Regions from separate parts of the Homo sapiens genome. Here region 2 is linked to region 1. The links are contacts of gene promoters, found by promoter capture Hi-C in human tissues and cell types (Jung and others, 2019). All regions are on one chromosome and are shown on one strand. Each heading gives the region's core, a stretch centred on a gene start or on the middle of the fragment in contact. The rest is flanking DNA. Distances are from core to core; before and after follow the strand shown.

Evidence for each region. The method cuts DNA at HindIII sites, captures the fragments that hold promoters and counts their contacts. A contact is called where the count stands out against the background at its distance.
Region 2: a fragment that was not itself captured here is called in contact with the fragment with the promoter of CP in region 1 in 1 of the 25 tissues and cell types used here (spleen).

The regions. Positions count from the first base shown.
Region 1 is chr3:149,218,579-149,223,741 of GRCh38, forward strand. CP (ceruloplasmin) reads right to left here and starts at 3,251. Exons shown (of 19, transcript NM_000096.4): 1 at 3,069-3,251. The coding sequence starts at 3,214. The HindIII fragment of the contact is 15,133 bases long and covers 1-5,163 here.
Region 2 is chr3:149,280,461-149,285,623 of GRCh38, forward strand. TM4SF18-AS1 (TM4SF18 antisense RNA 1) reads left to right here and starts at 4,319. Exons shown (of 2, transcript NR_186251.1): 1 at 4,319-4,722. The HindIII fragment of the contact is 4,643 bases long and covers 563-5,163 here.

The DNA.
Region 1 (5,163 bases), core at 2,001-4,500:
CCTCAGGTGACTTTTCTATCTTATTCTGTTACCTGATTTGTTCTATAGCATGAATCTCTCCACATGAGGAGCAAGGAAAAGTTTTTACAATACAGTCTATGATTTTTCCTATCTTCCTATGTATCTTTTATTTACTCATTTAAACTTATTCAGAAATATTTATTTAGTGTCTCCTATATTCTAGGTACTAGTGACCAAGCACTAGTACTTGCATATGCATATACTAGTACTCTCAATGCATATTTTCCTGTTCATCATCCCAGACCTTCAAGATCAACATTCAGCTTAAACTCGATTCTTTACCTAAAATTCATATTACACTCTTTCACATCTTATTCTTCAGCCCATTTATTTCCACTCCTTTTTAGTCATCATACGATAAGAAGTGCCAACCATGTCTTGTGATACTCCATCATCCTTCACTGACTGGGCTAAACATGCTGCAAATCTGGGACAAAGAAGGGACCAAAAGGTTGCTATCTGCACACATCTATGCAAAAAGTTTAGCATAGTATTGGCAAAATTGCTGAAGCTGTATTCAAAATTCACTGGTAAGATATATGGGGGAAAAAAATCACAGAGAAAGCAGTCCCACCTAGAGTTTGCAAAACTGTAGCATATTGTTGAAGCCAGAGGAGATGTTAAAGTCACAGGACAATAACAAAAAGAGAGGTGGACTTTGCAACTAGAAGATGCTCCATTTTTCCTTTTAAGGAGCCTTAAGTATCTCTATTAAGTATACTTTTTAAGTAACTGATATGGTTTGGCTGTGTCCCCACCCAAATCTCACCTTGAATTGTAATAATCCCCACATGTCAAGGGAGGGGGCCAGGTGGAGGTAACTGAATCATGGATGTGGTTTCCCCCATATTGTTCTCATGGTAGTGAATAAGTCTCATGAGATCTGATGGTTTTATAAATGAGAGTTCCCCTGCACAAGCTCTTTCTTGGCTGCTGCCATGTAAGACGTGCCTTTGCTCCTCCTTTGCCTTCTGCCATGATTGTGAGGCCTTCCCAGCCATGTGGAACTGTAAGTTCATTAAACCTCTTTTTCTTTATAAATTACCCAGTCTTGAGTATGTCTTTATTAGCAGTGTAAGAACAGACTAATACAGTAAATTGGTACCTGGAGTGGGGCACTACTGTAAAGGTACCCAAAAATGTGAAAGTGACTTTGGAATTGGGTAGCAGGCAGAGGCTGGAATAGTTTGGAGGGCTCAGAAGAAGATAGCAAGATGTGGGAAAGTTTGGAACTTCCTAGAGACTTGGAGGGCTCAGATGACAGGAAGGTATGGGAAAGTTTGCAATGTAAGACATGCCTTTGCTCCTCCTTTGCCTTCCACCATGATTGTGAGGCCTCCCCAGTCATGTGGAACTGTGAGTCCATTAAACCTCTTTTTCTTTATAAATTACTCAGTCTTGAGTATGTCTCTATTAGCAGCATAAGAAGAGACTAATATAGTCACAATGGGGTAAACAGGCTTATACTCATTGGGTAGCTTCCCTGGCACAGACAGGCCACAGGAGTAATTAAAAACAAAGGAATTTCCTCCGCCCCCATTCACCAAATTCTAAACAAACTCCTTCACTCTTCTACTCCCTGATTTTTAGAATTAAAGATTTTTTTTTGAAGCATATTCAGGGCAATGTCTTGCACTTAGTTTATGCCTGATAAAGCTGATTTGATTTTTGATCACGAACAATGGCAGAGTGGTGGTGAGTGGGGGCATAGAGAAGGATAGTATTTTTATTTTTTTAATGTGTCTGACTTTTTCCTTGGAAATAAAAACCACATATAATTTATATTATATTTAATCAAGAAAATACTGAATCCATGCAAAATAATGTTTCTGGTGAAGCTGTAAAAATATGTCATATTCCTTAGAAGATAATACCACCTTAAAACCAGGTTAAAAAAGAAATAATTACAAGATGTATTAGTTTTATTTACAACCACTTATCTTCAGGTCAGAAACTTTCTTTATTGTATATTATTAAATTCATAATATAATAATTGGATATTAGTATCTGTTATGTATTTATTTTTATGGTGAAAAATTTCAACTTTACATAATGTTAAAGAAAATAGTATATACTCATCAATAAGATTCAATAATTACAAACTTCGGCATCCTTATTTAGCTGTTTTTTAAAGATATAATCTTGGCAGCTGATGGTCATTGGGCTTGTTTGTGTTTTATTACCACTGAAATACATTTTAATGTAGTGAATATTGATTTTGAATTCCAAGTTCCCATTTGGTGGTTAATGTTTAATTAACATCATTAAAAGTGAAGACCTCAGTATAGATAAACTTCTGTACAAAAAACTTCAAGGAGAACTAAACTTTTTGTTTTACTGTGTAGTGAATATTGCTTTCAATAAGGGGATTTTCCAACTGAAAAATGAAGACATTTAAGTTACATGGAGCTTTTTGAGGACCATCCTAATAAGTACCTGACATTTTTTTATGCACATATGTGCCAAGCATTGTACTAAGAGCTTTACATGCACCCGCTCTTTAAATAACCCTATGAGCTATGCTTATTATCCTCATTTTACAAATTAGGACCCTGAAGCTGTGAAAGATTAACCTACTTAACTGTCTGGAGTCTCTCAATAAATATCAGGCAGGATCTTATTTGCTAAAATTGTATTTTATTTCTATAAGTGATGTTTTGAAAGATATAAAAAAATTTTATGCCTATCATGAATAACCATTAAATGGTGCAATAAACATAACATTGTATACAGTAATTGTTTAAATGAAAGAACTTCTGCATAAACACATAAAAAGACAGATTCCTAATCGGAGATGCAGTTACGACCATGGGAGGTAGTAAGATGTGAACACAGATCCCCAGGAACAACAGGAAAGAAGCAGGGTAGTCCACCAAATAAAAAATATACAGGAATATAAAGGAGATTGATTCAAGTGTCTTGGGTTTCAAGCCCACATTTTGCAGTTTCTGTATATAAGAAATTTTAAAAATATTTCATCTTATTGGCTCTATCCTTTAAAAATAACTTAAAATTTTGGTCTATAAACAATAAAAATAGTGACTTACGTGTCAACAGAAATAAGTTTCTTTTCCCCATGGTCAGAGGCATAATCCCAAGTCGTTTCAATAATTCCAATGTAATAATGCTTTTCTTTCGCCCAGGCTGGGGTACTACATAAAAACAGAAAAATACCAAGTATCAAAATCTTCATTTTTTTCCCCTTCTTGGAGCCTGAGAAGAAATGAAGTAAAATCAGGAGCAGGCAATTTTATAAATAAGACTTTCTTCCTTATTTGCTTGATTGACACAATTTAGTGTTGCACAAGAGTAAATTGTTTCATTAAAGCAAATATTTTCCAATTCAGTTAAGTTCTCGTAAACCACCAAAAAAACAGTTCTTGGTTGCCAGGCTTCTCTGACTGAAAATAAAAAGTCAACAGTTATTGTTGGAGGCATTAGGGTGTGCATAACTCTGTGCCTTTTTCCATTCATTGTGTAAATTCCAGGAGGGCAGAGAACGTGTCTAAATGCTCCCTTTGTTCCTCTGACAATATGTCACAGCACAGTGTCCTGCAAACAGTGCACTTTTAGTAAATCAGGATAAGAATTATGTAAAATGAATCAAAACATGTAGCTTTTTACTACAGTCATTCTTAATGACAGGGATACGTTCTGAGAAATGCATTGTTAGGCTATTTTGTCATTGTGTGACTATCACAGAGTGTACTTACACAGACTTATATGATATAGCCTACTATACATCTAGGTAGGCTATATGGTATACCTATTGCTCCTAGGCTACAAACCTGTACAGTCTATAACTATGCTGAATGCTATAGACAATTGTAACACAATGATATTTCTGTATCTATACATATGCAAACATAGAAAATGTACAGTAAAAATATGTTATTATAATCTTATGGGACCACCATCACATATGCAGTTTGTCATTTACTCAAACATTATTATGTGGTGCATGACTATTTCTAAAAGTCTAACAAATGATTAATTGCAGCTTTATGATATGAAACATGATATCTAGCATGCCAAATTTAAGTAAACAAAAATAAGAATTTAATTTGGAAGAATTTATCTGTTTTATGAGCTTGGACCAAATCTGCATAAAAACTTTACCAGATCATTCTGTATTGCTATATGCAAATAACTAGCAGAGCCTAACAGGGGCTAATAACTTTGTTTTAATCATCAAATAAACAAACCATAACTAAACCTGTCTTCAGAGGCAAAGATTAGTCTTAGTAAATAGAAAGTACCCCAGTTTATCATTAGACTGAAATTTTTCTCTTTGAAGTGGATATGAATTTTAAGGTGGAAGACTTTTTCTTAAAACCCTGTTTTTAGTCAGGAAGTATATGTCTAAAAGTATGAAATGGCTTTTTTTTTTAGCTGAAGAAAATCCTGATAACAGTTGACACTTTGTGTTAGTATAATTTTTTTTCTCTCAAATACCTCAAAACGTTGTGTATTTGCTGAAGGCCACTTGTTGAAATAGATTGGTATAGAAGAAAGCATGCGATATTTGAACAATTCCTTCATTTAGGAAATATTATTGAATGAGCCAAGTTCTGTTCTACTCACTGGGAATACAGCAGTCTGTGCCAAGTTCTGTTCTACTCACTGGGAATACCGCAGAGAACAAAACACCTACCATCATGCAACTTACATTCTACTTGGGGAAACTGAAAATATAAAAATGAAAAATGAAATACACAATATTAGTGGTGAATGCTATGGAGAAAAATAAAGCAGAGAAGGAGAATAAGGAGTGCTAGGGAAAAATCTGATGCTACCAAATGACCTCAAGTAAGATACTTCAGCCCAGCTTCAGTTTCCTCATCTGAAAATCTCAGGTTAATTGAAATGACCTATGTTAAGGCAGACAGTGGAGGAGCTTCTCTCACCAGCTGGTAATAATCTTAACTAAATGGCTTGGTACAGAAAACTGAATCATGTTGCCCAGGATGCCCCAAGGCCTCCTTCTAGGACTGCCTTGAACAATTGTGCCGTCATGTCCACTGAGAGGACTGACGAAGGACTAAAATCTTGCTCAGATGCCACCGGCCATACCCTGTGCCTTGCAAGAAGCTGCTTTTCCCCTAATGGTCCACACAGACGGGGGGCATTTTTCAGCCGTTT
Region 2 (5,163 bases), core at 1,634-4,133, 62 kb after region 1:
CAAAAACTCAAAAGGTCAAGTAACTTGCTGTAGAATGCACATTTCCAAATTGTAGTGCCAGTAGTCAGCTATAGATTACTGGATTCCAAATAAAATTTTCTGTTCTTTTCATACTACCTGTAATAGCAGTGGCTTTAATAGTTTAAGTGTGTAGACTTCTATATTACCTACAAATGCTCAGTTTTTCTCAGAGTATATGGCTCTAATTATATCTTCCAACAAAGCTGATAAATTAGATATAAATGATGTTGGGGCAAGATGGGGAGTTTAAAGACACCATGGAGGATGTCAGTCACTGTTAGATCCATTTCTATTCTTTGTATTACTTCTACCAATAACCACCATTTGTTGAAAGTCAGCTCTTCCTTAGCCCTTTTGTAAATATTAGCTCTAATTGTGCCACCAACTCTGAAAGGGAAGCTTATTAAGTTCTCTTTTATAGATAAGGAAACTGGAACTTGGAGATTTTAAACAACTAACCAAAACAACTAAATGTTATTGCCAGAATTTAAATCCAGGACTTAAAGCCTGGTGGATGCCCTACCATTAAACTCCTTGCCTTATAATCAAGGTTATTCTATGGGAAACTATATACTAGATTAGAAAAATTTGAATAAGTAGAGCAGCTAGCAGCTGGGGCAGAGAGAGTTCCACTTGGGCTGGAGCTCTGAGTCCTTCGCAGTTTAAGGCTATGCAAATTACAAGCTTTCGCAGTATGGGGTAGACTACATAAGACACTGGAGGCCTACAAAGCAAGGCACAGAAGGGAATAGTGGGAAGACACTGAACAGTAAGAAAGAGAAAAGCAGCCCCCCAACATCCAGGAGCTGTCCTGGTACTAGTGGCTAAGCTTTGCCCAACTAGGAGCTGGCCTGGCACTCACAGCTAGGCCCTGGTGTCCTCCTCCTTGGCATAAACAATCTCCCAGAACACCAACATCAGACAGCACCACTCTGTGACCCTAATGGAGCCAGAAGAAAAACAATACCACTCCAGAAAATGTCTGAATATTGTTGATGAAAAGAGTCAAACTCCGTAAAATATTTGAAGACATTTATTCTGAACCAAATATGAGTAACCATGGCCTGTGACACAACCCTTAGGAGGACCTGAGAACATGTGCCCAAGGTGGTTGGGGTGCAGCTTGGTTTTATACCATTTTACGGAGGCATGAGACATCAATCAAATACATTTAAGAAATACATTGGTTTGGTCAGAAAGGCGGGACAATGCCGAGTGGGGGCTTCCAGGCTATAAGTAAATTTAAACATTTTCTGGTTGACAATTGGTTGAATTTGTATAAAGACCTTGGATCAACAGAAAGGCAGGTCTGGGTTAAGATAAAGAATTGTGGAGACCCAAGTTATTTACAGAGGAAGCTTTTAGGTAGTAGGCTTCAGAAACAATAGGTTGTAAAAATGTTTCTTATCAGACTTAAAGTCTGTGTTGGTGTTAATGTTGAGAGGTGTAATGAGGCATGTCCAACCCCCGCTGCCCTTCAAGGCCTGAAACAGTCTCCAGGTAAAATTTTAAAAGAGCCTTGGCTGAGGAGGAAGTCCTTTCAGATGGTTGGGGGACCTTAGAATTTTATTTTTGGTTTACAGTATACATGAGAAACATGAACATTCTCCAAATCTCAAAAATAACCACACATTCCCTGACTATATTTTATGGCTCTAGCTTTGTTTTACTCTTTACCAATTATAGCTTTAGCTTTATTTCATTCTTCTTTTCTTATAGATTACATTTATTAAGATACCCAATCATAAATTTCCCCCACTTTCTCACTGCCTTTGATCCAGAGCAAAGCCCTGCTTCCTTAAACATCCCCCACAAATCACCTAACACAAACCCCAATCATACAATAAGTTCTTTTTAACACTGCTTTTTTTTTCTGAGATACCCCAAGGTTCTGTATCATGTATGTTCTCTCTCAATGCGTTAAGCAACAAACACAACTTGTTCATCTACAGATGTGTTCCTGTGGTTTAGTTGGAGTGCACTGATACTAAAGTCCATGATGTAGGTCAGGGAATCTGTTTCATGGCTTAAAATAGTGCCAACATGACAAAAACTCAGAAATGTGTGTCTCTGGCTTGAACCTCTCTGCCTAACAGTATATACAATAATCTATGCCACATTTCCACTTAGATGGTTAATATAGCAACTTCTTAAATGTTTATGCACAGAAAAATCATCTGGAGATTTTTTTAAAAGGAAAAATCTGTATTCTATAAGTCTGGGTGGGTCTGAAATTCTGCATTTCCTCACTGGCTCGCAGATGATGCCAGTGCTGCAGGTCCATGAACCACACTTTGAGAAGCAAGAGTCTAATGAACTCGTCAAATTCAACATGCCCAAATACCAACCCCTAAGACTTCCAGTTTCAGCTCCAGCATGTAAAGAGCATGGAAGTCATAATCCTTACAACAAGAGAAACTGGACAAAGAAAATCAACAGCTTTTCTTAAACCCATCAGATAATGGAGTTTGTAGGGCAAATCCCCATATCTGAAGAGACAGACAATCTAGAGTCACAGAAGAAATATGCTTACCTAGAGCAGAAGCCACTGGCACAATAAACTGGTAATTTTAACAATTGCTGGAGGCTGAGTTTGGACTGGATAAAAGTCAGCTTAATTAAAAGGCTAACATCCAAGATGTGTGTGTGTGTGTGTATGTGTGCATGTGTGCATGTTTGAAAGGCCTTCATGTTTTTGGTTTTGTTTGTTGGTTTGTTTTTCTCTCCTAAGACCTTGTCTTTTGGAGCAAAAGTTTATTTTTTTTCTTTTTTTTTCTCAGTTAACTGAATTCTGTTTTCACCTGATTTTTTTTTTTTTTTTTTTACTAAACTAGTTATTGCAACAGAATCTACTCTAGGGATTTTAAGGAAGAGTGTAGTTTAATTTTATGTTTAATTTGGCTCAAAGAAAAATAAAAGTGTCTCCTTCTAGCACTGCCAGATTTTTTTCTCTTTCTATTTTATAACGTAAATTTTGCTATTTGATTTTCACCTGAGTTGTTTCCTTTAATGTGAAAATTTTAGACTATTTAGCTGACAACTGCCTAGGGCTATGAAACAGGTTATCGAGAAACCGAAAGTCTAAGATAGGAAAAAAAAGGAGGGAGTCTTTGTAAATCTATAAAATGTACTGTAAACAACCAATGGGTTCACTTTGCCAAGACAGACTGATTTATCAAGATAGGAGAATTGCAATGGAGAAAGAGTAATTCACCCAGAGCCATTGTGCGGGAGACTGGAGTTTTATTATTACTCAAATCGATCTCCCTGAGCCTTTGGGGATCAGAGTTTTTAAATATAATTTGGCAGGTAGGGGCTTGGAAAGTAGGGAGTGTTGATTGGTCAAGTTGGAGATGGTGAGAGGTGACAGCGTGCTGGCAGTCCTCGCAGCCCTCACTCGCTCTTGGCGCCTCCTCTGCCTGGGTTCCCACTTTGGCAGCACTTGAGGAGCCATTCAGCCCGCCGCTGCACTGTGGTAGCCCCTTTCTGGGCTGGCCAAGGCCAGAGCCGGCTCCCTCAGCTTGCAGGGAGGTGTGGAGGGAGAGGCGCGGGTGGGAACCCTGGCTGTGCGTGGTGCTTGTGGGCCAGCACGAGTTTCCGGTGGGTGTGGGCTCGGTGGGCCCCACACTGGGAGCAGCCGGCAGGCCCCACCGGTCCCGGGCAGTGAGGGGTCTTAACACCTGGGCCAGCAGCTGCTGCGCTCAATTTCTCACCGGGCCTTAGCTGCCTTCCCTCGGGGCAGGGCTCTGGACCTGCAGCCCGCCATGCCTGAGCTCCCCCCACCCCCCTGCGCCCCGTGGGCTCCTGTGCGGCCCGAGCCTCCCGACGAGCGCCACCCCCTGCTCCACAGCACCCAGTCCCATCGACCACCCAAGGGCTGAGGAGTGTGGGCGCAGGGCACAGGACTGGCAGGCAGCTCCACCTGCGGCCCTGGTGCGGGATCCACCGGGTGAAGCCAGCTGGGCTCCTGAGTCTGGTGGGGACTTGGAGAACCTTTATGTCTAGCTAGGGGATTGTAAATACACCAATCAGCACTCTGTATCTAGCTCAAGGTTTGTAAACACACCAATCAGCACCCTGTGTCTAACTCAGGGTTTGTGAATGCACCAATCGACACTCTGTATCTAGCTACTCTGGTGGGGACTTGGAGAACCTTTATGTCTAGCTCAGGGATTGTAAACTCACCAATCAGCGCCCTGTCAAAACAGACCACTCGGCTCTCTGTAAAATGGACCAATCAGCAGGATGTGGGTGGGGCCAGATAAGAAAATAAAAGCAGGCTGCCTGAGCCAGCAGTGGCAACCTGCTTGGGTCCCTTTCCACACCGCGGAAGCTTTGTTCTTTTGCTCTTTGCAATAAATCTTGCTGCTGCTCACTCTTTGGGTCCACACTGCCTTTATGAGCTGTAACACCGCGAAGGTCCACAGCTTCACTCCTGAGCCAGCGAGACCACGAACCCCACCAGAAGGAAGAATCTGTGAACACATCCGAACATCAGAAGGAACAAACTCTAGACATGCCGCCTTTAAGAACTGCAACACTCACTGCGAGTGTCCGCGGCTTCATTCTTGAAGTCAGTGAGACGAAGAACCCACCAATTCCAGACACATTTTGGCGACCTAGATGGGACAATCGCCTATCACCGAGTGGTGAGACCATCGCCTATAGCTGAGCGGCGAGACAATCACCTATCGCCAAGCAGTGAGTACCATCGGACCCCTTTCGCTTGCTATTCTGTCCTGTCTTTGCTTAGAGTTCGGGGGCTAAATACTGGGCACCTGTCGGCCAGTTAAAAGTGACTAGCGCGGCTGCCGGACTAAAGACAAGGGTGTCAGGCTTTCTGGGAAAGGGCTTTCTAACAACTCCCGACTCTTCGGTGTTGAGACCATTGGTTTGCCTAGAACCAGCTTTTGCTTTTCCTGTACTTCTGGGCTGAGCCGAGGGTCAACAGAGAGGAAAGCCATGCACCTCCGGGGTCCCGACAACAAGTTGGTTGACCCTGCGACCATGAGCGGAACTCTCAAAGGCATGTCGCCCAAGCGAGACTCGCCCATCTATCCTATCTATCCTGAGCCTTGCCCCCTGGTTCCTAATGCCTGCCAGACAAACTTCCTCTCTCCTCTCTTCTCTGAGTTTAGTCCC